Linked DNA regions of Homo sapiens: region 2 is linked to region 1. The links are contacts of gene promoters, found by promoter capture Hi-C in blood cells and fetal thymus (Javierre and others, 2016). All regions are on one chromosome and are shown on one strand. The core of a region is centred on a gene start or on the middle of the fragment in contact, and the rest is flanking DNA. Distances in the headings are between cores, read along the strand shown.

What was found. The method cuts DNA at HindIII sites, captures the fragments that hold promoters and counts their contacts. A CHiCAGO score of 5 or more calls a contact.
Region 2: a fragment that was not itself captured here is called in contact with the fragment with the promoter of IGIP in region 1 in 1 of 17 cell types (naive CD8 T cells); the score reaches 5.5 in naive CD8 T cells.

What each region holds. Positions count from the first base shown.
Region 1 is chr5:140,123,237-140,128,866 of GRCh38, reverse strand. IGIP (IgA inducing protein) reads right to left here and starts at 2,930. Exons shown (of 1, transcript NM_001007189.2): 1 at 1-2,930. The coding sequence starts at 390. The coding sequence ends at 229. It overlaps PURA (purine rich element binding protein A), which reads right to left. Exons shown (of 1, transcript NM_005859.5): 1 at 3,248-5,630. The HindIII fragment of the contact is 9,298 bases long and covers 1-5,166 here.
Region 2 is chr5:140,068,754-140,074,383 of GRCh38, reverse strand. No RefSeq gene overlaps it. Among named protein-coding and RNA genes, the nearest start is that of NRG2, 28 kb to the right of the region's middle. The HindIII fragment of the contact is 2,734 bases long and covers 1,208-3,941 here.

The sequences.
Region 1 (5,630 bases), core at 1,681-4,180:
GATCGCAACCAGACCCCTTCCCCCAAAAAGCACTGAAACAAAAGACTGATCTGATTATACAGTCACATGAAAAATAAACATCTTTATTTTTTTGCCTACTTTATTTCATTTTTTCAAATAAAATTTAAATCTGTACAAAGTATACTGTTACAGTATATATTTTGTAAGAATCAATGCCTAAAATAATCACAATACTTCAATAAGCAGTACAGCAGACCTCGCTAGTTTTCAGCTTTGATATTGAACAAACTCAAGCCGGCTGATGCACAACACGTTTGCTTGGTTTCCACATGGTGATTTCCCAGCACTGAGATGGGAGAACATGACAGCAAATATGGTAATATTACAGCCCGACACACTGCGTTTCTTCATGTGATAATAACTGCACATATTTAATACAGAATGCTCAAATTTACTTTTTAAATTGCATTTGCTTACTTCTTAGTTGGCAAAATTCAGCATTCTTAAATGGGGTCCCCAAACAGTGCAAATTAATGATATTCTAACTGTATATTGGCACATCTCCAATAAGGATTAACTTGTAAACTCAAAGAATATCAACAACTTAGTCCTAAATTTTAACTAATATACATCTGGTCCATTTAACCAAAGTCATTTTGGAAAGATATTAAAGAACAATTCTATTTCTGAAAGGATATTGTTTTGACCATTCTTTAGAGAAGATAAATTTTTAAATTGTCATTAAAATGTTTCACTATAAAAATTTTACAAACTTGATTAGAAATTTCAAGATTATGATTCACAGCAGACAAATACAAACTGTATATTCCAACAATACCTATTCTTAGACTTTCAAACAGAGCACAACCATGTCAGCTGTGTTAACTAAAATTCTGAACAGTGTACTAAATTTATAAGTGGTGCTGGGTCTAGCAAGTGTAAATACACAGTATATTTCAATGAAAAGAATTGTCTTCTTTATACTTTATTTGTTTTCCCATAAGGAAACATTAATGTTTACATTCTTTAATAAAGTTAATCTTACATCAGAATATAACTTAATACTGTCAGCAACAGGGACCACACACAGTAAATAAGAAGCACATTTAAAATAAGTCTGATTTCACATAGATTAACATTTGTTGGTTAATAAAATATCGACAGTATTACAATCTTACAATATTTACAGTAAGAAAAATCTAGAGTAATATATACCTTTCACAGCAGGATTCCTTTTTTTAAAATTTCTTCCAGTTTGGGATTGTGTATACACAAAAAGCTCAAAATAAAGCAACTCTGCAATATAATCTTAAAATAATGGCTACTGGGGGAAATTCTATCACAACCATTGAAAATAATGGTGACTTCTCACGGAGTCTGTGGCATCTGAGAACCCAGTTAATTAACCAAAGTCTTGCTCATATTAGCCTCAGTTACCCAGATTAAAGCAGAACTCCGGCCTTCCCTGACTGCTGAAAACCCAACAGATTTTCTCAACATGCTATAAGGAAAGAGGAAAAATTGGTTTCAGCTCACACCTCATGGCTGGAAGCCTCTGGAAGCCTCCAGCCAGTGCACACTCCCCAACTTATGCTAAAAGAGGGCCAATTTCATCCCCACAGCATCACAAGAGTCCACCCTCCAACCACACAGTGCTCTGACACCAAGCTCACCCATTCCTCAACTCTTGTGCCTTAGGATAACACATGAACTTAGCCCACATAATACACACCAGCGTCTTAGAGACTTGAGACCAGGGCAAAGAAACAGACTAGTGTAGTTTGCACTGAGATCAGTAAGAAAAATGGGAAGTGATGCACATTTCCAATTAGAATGACAAGAAGAAGACCCACATCCCTAAACTGGAATTTGGCCAGGGCATCAGAGTTAGCACCCCCTCTCTGAGTACCGCTAGCGATTAGGATGTGTGCTCTGGGCCTCCTCTAAAAGAGAGCATCTACAGTAAGTAACACAGTATGGGACATTAGTTCAGTGACGACTGCCAAGAAAGCAGATACAATTCTTGAATCTGGGGCTGTCTACGGCACCTGAGGTCAATCATCCAAGCTGTGACCTGTCCCAACCCTGCTTACTTTAAGATATCTGATGGGCACAGAGCACTCAGGGATATGGCTGCTGGCTACTTTGGACTCTAGATCTCACAGGTAATCAACAGGTATCTGGGATTGAATTAGCAAACTGTACCATAGCTCCTTAAACAGACATTGTCAAGTCTGAAATCATGTCAAGCATGAATCTTCACTGTCAGGTCAGTAATCAAAGTGGGAGTCTTCCCACATCAGCCAAGGTTATTTTGTCAGAACCTTAGAGGAGTTGGACAGTTTTTCATGTTGCAAGTGATTGGTTTACTTATTTCAGTCAAGCTGGATTGGCAAACCAGACTGATTTATTTAGTGAGCTTTGTTTTTTTGATTCTTATGTGTGTGCTAACCCAAAGCTGTTGTATTTGGGCTAAATACACTGACAGAGAAAATTCAAACGACAAAAGTTTTCAGCAAACTTCTGTGGCATTTTTTCTTTTTGGAAGTAAATGCAAGATCTAAAGGTATTTCTACCCAACAACGTCTGTTTAAGTGTTTAATGTTATTTCCTTTTTGGTCCTATACAGAATGCTATGACTTCTATATAGGTCTGAATGCTGCTCCATGTAGATTCCTTCTGTATATCTAAAAATATATACTTTTCAGTAGTTCAATACATGGTTAATCTTCCCACAGAGGAAGATTTTTGTAATCACATGTTGCAAAGTAGAAAACATCTCCTTTCTAAGAAAGGAAATATACTTTCCTATTGTACACTTTTGAATAAGCCCAAAGGCATGCACCAAAAATCATTAATAAAACTAATACATGCAATAAAATGGTGTAGAGTTAGACTTAAAGTGCTGCTTCTCAATTTTTTTTAATTTGAAGAAGACATTTTGTCAGTTGTAGACTCAAAAATCTTTCCCCCACCCACCCTCCCCACCCCATGGCATTAAGAGAGAAAAGTAAAAAGTATGCATAAATCTTTTAACTATGCTTTACATGGGGGAAAGAACAGATGTATCAACTATCCTATATATCAACTGGATTCCCAGTTTTAAATAAAACCAATATTTACTGGTAAAAATTGTCAAAGCGAATACACGCAAACAAATGTTACTAGTAAATAAATGTTCTACATAGAGAATAATTTACTTTGGTTTTATGCGCCTTCTCAAAAATAACACTAGTGTCCCAACGTCACCAAACTGATGTGTTCCAGCAAAGTTGTAAGGCAAATCTTTTTTTCCCTAGTGACATCTTGTTTCCCAACAGACAAAACTAAAATCTTTTGGTGAGGAAGGGGTTAAGATAATGGCTAACCCCTTGGCATCCTGAGCATTGTGGTTTATCAAACTCTACCCTGCTAGAAATTGTCAGGCACCCTGACCCCTGCCTTGAACCAGGAAGGCTCCCATGTCTAGAGATGCCCTGACTCCTTATAAATAGCTTTCAGAACTTTGCTTTTTTCCCTTCTCTCTGGTTGTTATAATGTCTAACGAAGCTGGTTGCAATGTCACATTTTGCTAGTAGGGGCCACCATCTAACAATAATTCCAATATGAAAGGTTTTAAGCCAATAGTTGGTTCCTAATTTTATCAACGATTTGCACTAAAATTCTCTACAATTTACTTAGAGCAGAGATCTTTAACTTGGGTTTCAGAAGATGTGTGATGCCCCTGAAGTTGTATGCAAAATTATCCAGGGATGGGCATTTTTTTTTTCTTGGGTAGAGGATCCATCACACTGTCATCAGATTATCAAAGATATCTGTGACCCCCAAAAAGGGTTATAGGGACTTAGAGGGATACCCGTAATTCATTTTATACCAGGACTGGGAAATGGGGGCAGAAAACTAAAAATGGCCTCGAAAAAGGCCAGGGACAAATTGCTGATCTTTTCCCTTTATTCACATTGGGAAAATAAGTGCTTCAAACTGGAAAAATCATTAATTAAGCTGGTTAAACTCCATTAAAAAATAATCAAATCGCTTTCTAAATTTTTTTCATTTTCGATATGTGGTAAATTTTGTCTCCAAGAAAAGGTTTGGAGACTGAATTTTTCTCTTTTCCTAAAGGAAATTCATAGATAGAATGCTGAATATCATCCACATTTAAAGATTTGACAACATAAAAGTTAGATAACTCTTAATGATGTGAATCTTTAACTTATGATTTTGAGTAAAGGATTATCTAGAATCAAATATACACTTATTAATCTTCATTTCCCAAAATTGGTCCATATTTAGACAACTACCTGGCACAATTTCACTAGATAAACCTAAAATCTGAACAATGGAAGTTAAACTTCTACCCAAAGTAAAAACAAAGCCATAAGATTCCACAATTGAATTGGCCACAAACATTCACACTATGTTATAAAGGACTTTCTCATTTCAAATACATCACTGAATGTTCAACAGAATTTGCAAACATAAGATCCAGAATGACTAGCAAAACATGCTAAGAGCATGTCAAAAAGTAAAACACCACCTCTCCCCCCCCAATCTGGAAACACACTCAGGCATTCCAAAAATAAACCAGATCTGAAAAGAGGCCTCTCACTTGGTTTTAAGTATGAGGTGTGTACAAAGCTATGGGAAAGGGAATATAAAATGAAATAACCAAATAACTTACAAAAAATAATTTTAGCCAAAAACACATCTCTCTGTTCCATTGATAAAACTATCAATTTTTAAATTTTTTTGCAATTCTGAACACTGTGTTGCATAATATCACCAAGACAAAAAATATGTTCACAGGTACACTTTTTGTTATTTTCTTTCTAGAGCACATCTTTGAGGTCATAAGACCGCATCTGGTTAAAATAAAGTCTCTTGCCCTTGCTTCCCTTCCCCCTCAAAGTGATTCAACCCTGAATTCCAAAAAGGAATATTCAATATAACAACTTGAAAACCAGTTGTAACACTTAGACCATAAGGAAACTATATGAACATTATGGAAAACTACATGAAAGAGGGAGCTGCCACTTGCCACCCACTTCACTTCCAGCTTTTTAAGCATGTACCCAGCTAGACTCCTATCTCACTGACTTCAGTGAAACAAACTAACACACCAAATCTAGGCCATCTCAGGCTGGAAGTTAAAACTCGAAGACATCATTTCATATACACATACATATATATTCCCTATCCTAAGCTTTAACTTTGTCTATTTAAACAGTTTAATAAAGCTCACATTTACAAAGGATTTTATTGGCAAATAAAGGCCCATATTAAAAATTTTATCAGAACAAATTTTTGTTTTATACAGCTAACATTAAGAAATATTTTCTTGGCCTTATAAAATATTTTTAATTGCATATAATTTTTGCTTTGGGTGGAATATTGAAAACACAATTCTGCAAGAAATTAGAAAAGACTAGAAACAAAAGTGAAAGTGACTAGCCTTAACTTTCAAAAAATCAAGTGCAAAGATAAATAGTGCAAATAATGAAAACTAGAAATTTTACAGGCAACTTTAGTCTTTCCTGCTTTTGCACTTTTACACATTGACAACTTTATAAACCCTAACAACTATATGCAGCATGGAAATGGGCTATCATTTATCTCCACTGACTAGACTTAAGCCTTTCAAGGACTTGTCTCACAGTCATTTAAATCAC
Region 2 (5,630 bases), core at 1,325-3,824, 54 kb after region 1:
TTAAGTAAACGATAAAGGAATTTTTTTTTTTTTGAGACGGAGCTTTGCTCTTTTTGCCCAGGCTGGAGTGCAGTGGTGCATTCTCGGCTCACCGCAACCTCCACCTCCCAGGTTCAAGCGATTCTCCTGCTTCAGCCTTCCGCATAGCTGGGATTACAGGCATGCGCCACTACGCCTGGCTAACTTTGTATTTTTAGTAGAGACGGGGTTTCTCCATGTTGGTACCAAAAAGATGTAGCAATTCTGACTCTATATGTAATTTACAATACCTCTTCAGTACATGTAAAGCAAAAATGTCATTGACAGAATTGCAAGAAATTAACAAATCCACAATTACAGTGGCAAATTTTTCTTTACCATATTTCCTACAGAAACAGAAGAAGCTGACATAATATTAATAAGGATACAGAAGATCTGAAAAACATGGTTCACAAGCTTGATTTAATGGATACAGCCAGAATCCTTCACGTAGTGGAGAGTACATGTTTTCTAAGTACATGTTCTCTAAGTAAATGTGAAAAACTTGAAAATTTGACTACGAAGCCAGTCTCAAGTAATACTGAGAAAGTTGATATTATACAGACCACATTTTTTTTTTACCATAATATAATACAACTATGAATCAACAATAAAAAGCCCTGTACCCCACAATAGAGTGACTTTTAGTTTCTGGCTTAAGCAATTAGGTAGATGGTACGTATGTCATTTATTGAGATGGAAAAGACGGAAGAAAAACCATTTTAAGGGAGAGTGGAAATGGGGTCACAGAAAAGATAAATCAGTTTAGAGATGTCTGGCCAACCAACACCTAGCAAGGTATTGGGATAGATTTACCTCAAATAATTCATCAGCCAATAGATTTAATGTGTCTGCTATAACCACACTTCTTTTCTAGGAACCCTTTTTCTATTTTGAGATTTTTGTAAATTTGAGTTTGAAAATTACGAGTTATATTGCCATATTAATTGGTTATGCTGCCACTCAGTGGTAGATTTTAGAATAGCAGATATATCTTTTTTAGGTGAATTCCTATTTTTTTAATTAAAGAAAGCAAAGATTATAAAATAATCTATTTCATTGTTCGAAATATTGCCATTCCTATCTCTACATTATACATTATTTTATGTATCCCAAAATATCAGTAGTATTGCCTTTATATTCAACTATTAATATTGCAAAAGTTTAGATCCCCCCAATGGAAAAAGCTTAACGTACAAAAGTTATTCAAATAGCTAATATTTGTTGTATGCTTAGTATGTTCCAGGCAGTACTGTAAGTTCTTCTTGTTCTTTTTTTTTTCTTTAAGACAGTGTCTCCTTCTGTCGTCCAGGCTGAAGTGCAGCGGCGCGATCTTGGCTCACTGCAACCTCCACTTCCCCAGCTCGAGTGATTCTCCTGCCTCAGCCGCTGGAGTAGCTGGGACTACTAGGCGCGGGCAACCACACTCAGAGAATTTTTGTATGTTTTGTAGAGATGAAATTTCGTCATGTTGTCCAAGCTAGTGGGAGCTAAAATGGTACAATCTTTCACTTCAGGAAGCTAACTTGGTAATATGTATCAAAAGCCTTATTTAATGCACATATCCTTTGGTATAGCAATTTTATTTCTGCAGGTTGATTTTTAAAAATTAATTCAAGATACATATCTATTAGAATGGCCAAAGTCCAGAACATGACAACACCAAATGCTGGTGAGGATGTGGAGCAACAGGAACTCTGGTTCATTGCTGGTGGGAATGCAAAAGGGCACAGCCACTTTGGAAGATAGTTTGACAGCTTCTTACAAAACTAAACATACATCTTACTATATAATCCAACATTTGAACTCTCTGGTGTTTACCAAAAGGAGTTGAAAACTTATGTCCATACAAAGACGTGCACATGGATGTTTATAGCATCTTTTATAATTACCAAAACTTGAAAGCAACTGAGTTGGCCTTCATTAGAGGAATGAATAAACTGTGGTATACCCAGTAAATGAAATATTCATTGCTAAAAAGAAAAAAGCTATCAAGCCATGAAAAGACGTGCAGGAACCTTAAATCCATATTGCTAAGTGAAAGAAGCCAATTGAAAAAGTTACGTATTATATGATTCCAAACTGTATCACATTCTGGAAAAGGCAAAACTATGGAGAGAGTAAAAGGATCAGTAGTTGCCAGAGTATGGGGCGAGGGAAGGATGAATAGATGGAGCACAGAGGATTTTCAGGGCAGTGAAAATACTATATGATACTATAATGAATGTATGTCCAAACCCATAGAATGTACACCACCAAGAGTGAACCCTAATGTAAGGTATAGACTTTGGATGATAGTGGTGTATCAATGTAGGTTTATCTGTTGTAATGTATGTACCGCTCTGGTGGGGGATATTGTAATTGGGAGCCTGAACATGTATGACGGCAGAGGCCATAAGGGAAATCTCTGTACCTTCCTTTCAATTTGGCTGTGTGCCTAACACTGCTCTAAAAAAAAAATACAATCTTAAATATAATAAAATTGGATCACATCACACACCATAAAAAAGAAAGACATTAATTGAATTTGTATGAAGATTAAGGTACAAGGATGTTCATTTTAGACCTTTATTGGAGCAAAAAATATTGTAAACAACTTAGATATACCATAAGAGCAGAGTTTAATTATGGAATATTTGTACAATAGAATATTCCTTGCCTCCCACATCTAAGTCATCAGAGCAAGTTCTCCATTACCTCCAGAATAGATTCTGATTCTGTTCAATACTCTCCATCTCAATGGCCACCATTCGAGAACAATGCCTCACCCTCCTTCATCTGGATACTAAACATCTTCCTAACTGGTCATCCTGCTCCAGCTTCTACTCCTTTGATCCATTCTTCACATAGCAGTCAGAGCTGTCTACTTTGCTGCCTGGCTAGCTAGCTAACCATTTGTTTAAAGTATTAAAAGCACCCATAAACCTACCACATTAGGCCCCTACCCGTACCATGCCCTAACTCCTCCCATGCCAGGCAGCCATCAACCTGAATCCCCACTCCCTTGCTTTCCTTTTTATATAGTGTTATTGTATTTATAAGCATTCCTAAATATGCATATTTAAATGTTTTTAATTTAATAAAAAATATCATGTGGCACACAATAATTTTTGCACTTAGTGGTATTTGTTAAGATTCATGCATGTTGTTGCATGTCACCACAGTTCGTTCATTTAAACAGCTGTGTAATATTCCACTGTGGTTATGGATTTAGTTTATTCAGTCTCTTGTTGATGGGCATTTTGAAGATTTTTTCCTAGGTTTTTATTATTGTGAATGATCCTGTCATGAGCATCATGGTCCATGTCTCTTATTGTATATGTGCAAGAATTTCTTTTGGATATATATCTAGGAGTGGAATTTTTGCATTTTAGGGTACATAAATGTTAAACTTTAATTGTTTGCCAAACTGTTCATCAATTTACTTTCCAACTAGCAATTTTTTTATTTCATTTTATTTTGTTTTGAGACAGGGTCTCACTCTGATACCCAGGCTGGAGTGCAGTGGCATCATTTTGGCTCACTACAACAACCTCTGCCTCCTGGGCTCAGGTGATTCTCCCATCTCAACCTCCCAAGTAGCTGGGAATACAGGTGCGCACCACTACACCAAGCTAATTTTTCTATTTTTAGTAGAGACGGTTTTGCCATGTTGCCCAGGCTGGTCTTGAACTGCTGGGCTCAAGCAATCCTACTGCCTTGGCCTCCCAAAGTGCTATGATTATAGGTGTGAGCCACTGCTCCCGGCCAGTTCTTTACATGAATATCTCATTTAATACTCACAACAACCCTATAAGTACTATTTATGCCTAACTTGAAAGTGAGGCATAGAAGGATAAATAATTTACTCAAAGCCATACAACTAATAAATAACAGAGCTGGGATTTTGAATATAGGTAATACGGTTCTAGAGTGCTGAAGCTTAACAACTGTGAACACTGTTTGAAACAGAAAAAAAATTGAAGGTAATTTAAAATTTTAACAGTAAAGCAATAGCTCAGCAAACTCTAGCATATCAGTTTGATAGAATGCTATGTAGACATTTAAAATAATAGACTCAAAGATTATATGATAAGATGAGAAACTGTTTATAACATGAAAACTCCAGCCAATGTCATCATACAGTGTATGTGACACTCTAATATATTTATTATTTCTTAAGTTTTCAAAAACTTATTTAAAAATAATATCAAACTTATAAGGAGTTGCAAAAGTAAAAATCATACAAGGAACATTTGAATATCCTTTACAAAGATTCAGCCATTGCTAACATTCTCTTTCTGTTTACACAGACACACACACACACACACACACACACATATTTTTTCCTTAAACCATTTGATGTAGGTTACATATATCTTTTTTTTTTTAAGGCAAGGTCTCACTTTGTCACCTAGGCTGGAGTTCAGTGGCATGATCTTGGCTCAACCTCCTGGGTTCAAGTGATCCTCATGCCTCAGTGCCCCCAAGTAGCTGGGACCACAGGTGTATGCCACCATGCCAGGCTGTATATATCATGGCTCATGGCTTTTTATCCTCAAATCATCCGGCATTGATTGATTGATTAATTGAGATATAGGGTCTCAATATATTACCCAGGCTAGCCTTGAACTCCTGGCCTGAAGTGATCCTCCTACCTCAACCTTCAGTAGCTGGGACCACAGGAGTTTGTCATAGGGCTCAGCTCAGCATGTATTTCTGAAGGAAAGGGGTTTGCTCTAGTTACTGACTTCATAAGTTTACCTTGATAGAATGCTATCATCTAATTTACTGTTCACATTCCAAAAGTTTTAGCTGATCTAATCATGTCCTTCACAGGTTTTTTCCCCTTCCAGTACAGCTTCAATTTTAGGGTCAAATATTGCATTTAATTGCCATGTCTTTTTAGCCACCTTAAATCTGGAACATTTCCACAGTCTTTGTCTTTTTTGACATTGACATTTTTGAAGAATACAACTCTCCCACCTTTCTTTTTTTTAATAGAACACTTCGTTTTGTTTGTCTGATGTTTCCTCATGATTAGATTGCATTTATACACTCTCAGCACGAATATTGCATAGGTGATGTTGTGACCTTCTCAGGATCTGGAGGCACACGATGTCCATCTATCTCTCAAAGATAATATTAATTTTGATCATCCAATCAAAGTGATGCCTTAGTTTTCCACTGTATAATCATCTTTTGTTCTTTCTTTCCTGCGACTAATAAGTCTGTGGGTGACACATTTTAAGATGGTGCCAATATCTTATTCCTTACCAAAAATTTCCTTTAGATTTAACTTCTATTGATGATTCTTGCTTGAATTAATCTGTACTATGAAAGTTGCAAAATGATAATTTTCCAGTTTAGCACATGGTCCCCATTGGCCAGTTGTCCCTAGAAGGGCAGCCTTATGACTTTCTTGGGCCCTCGGCACTTTTGTCTTTATTGTTCCTCCATATGATTTTAAAAAATTATATTTGATGACTTTGTTGCTATGAAGATAAATATAATCCAGGATGTTATTGCCAGTGCATTTATTTTTCTTCTGATTTCTTTTAAAAGAAGTTAAAACATTTTCATGCGCCTTTGAAAGTATCATGGGTCTCAGACACTGTGCCTAATGGATCAGT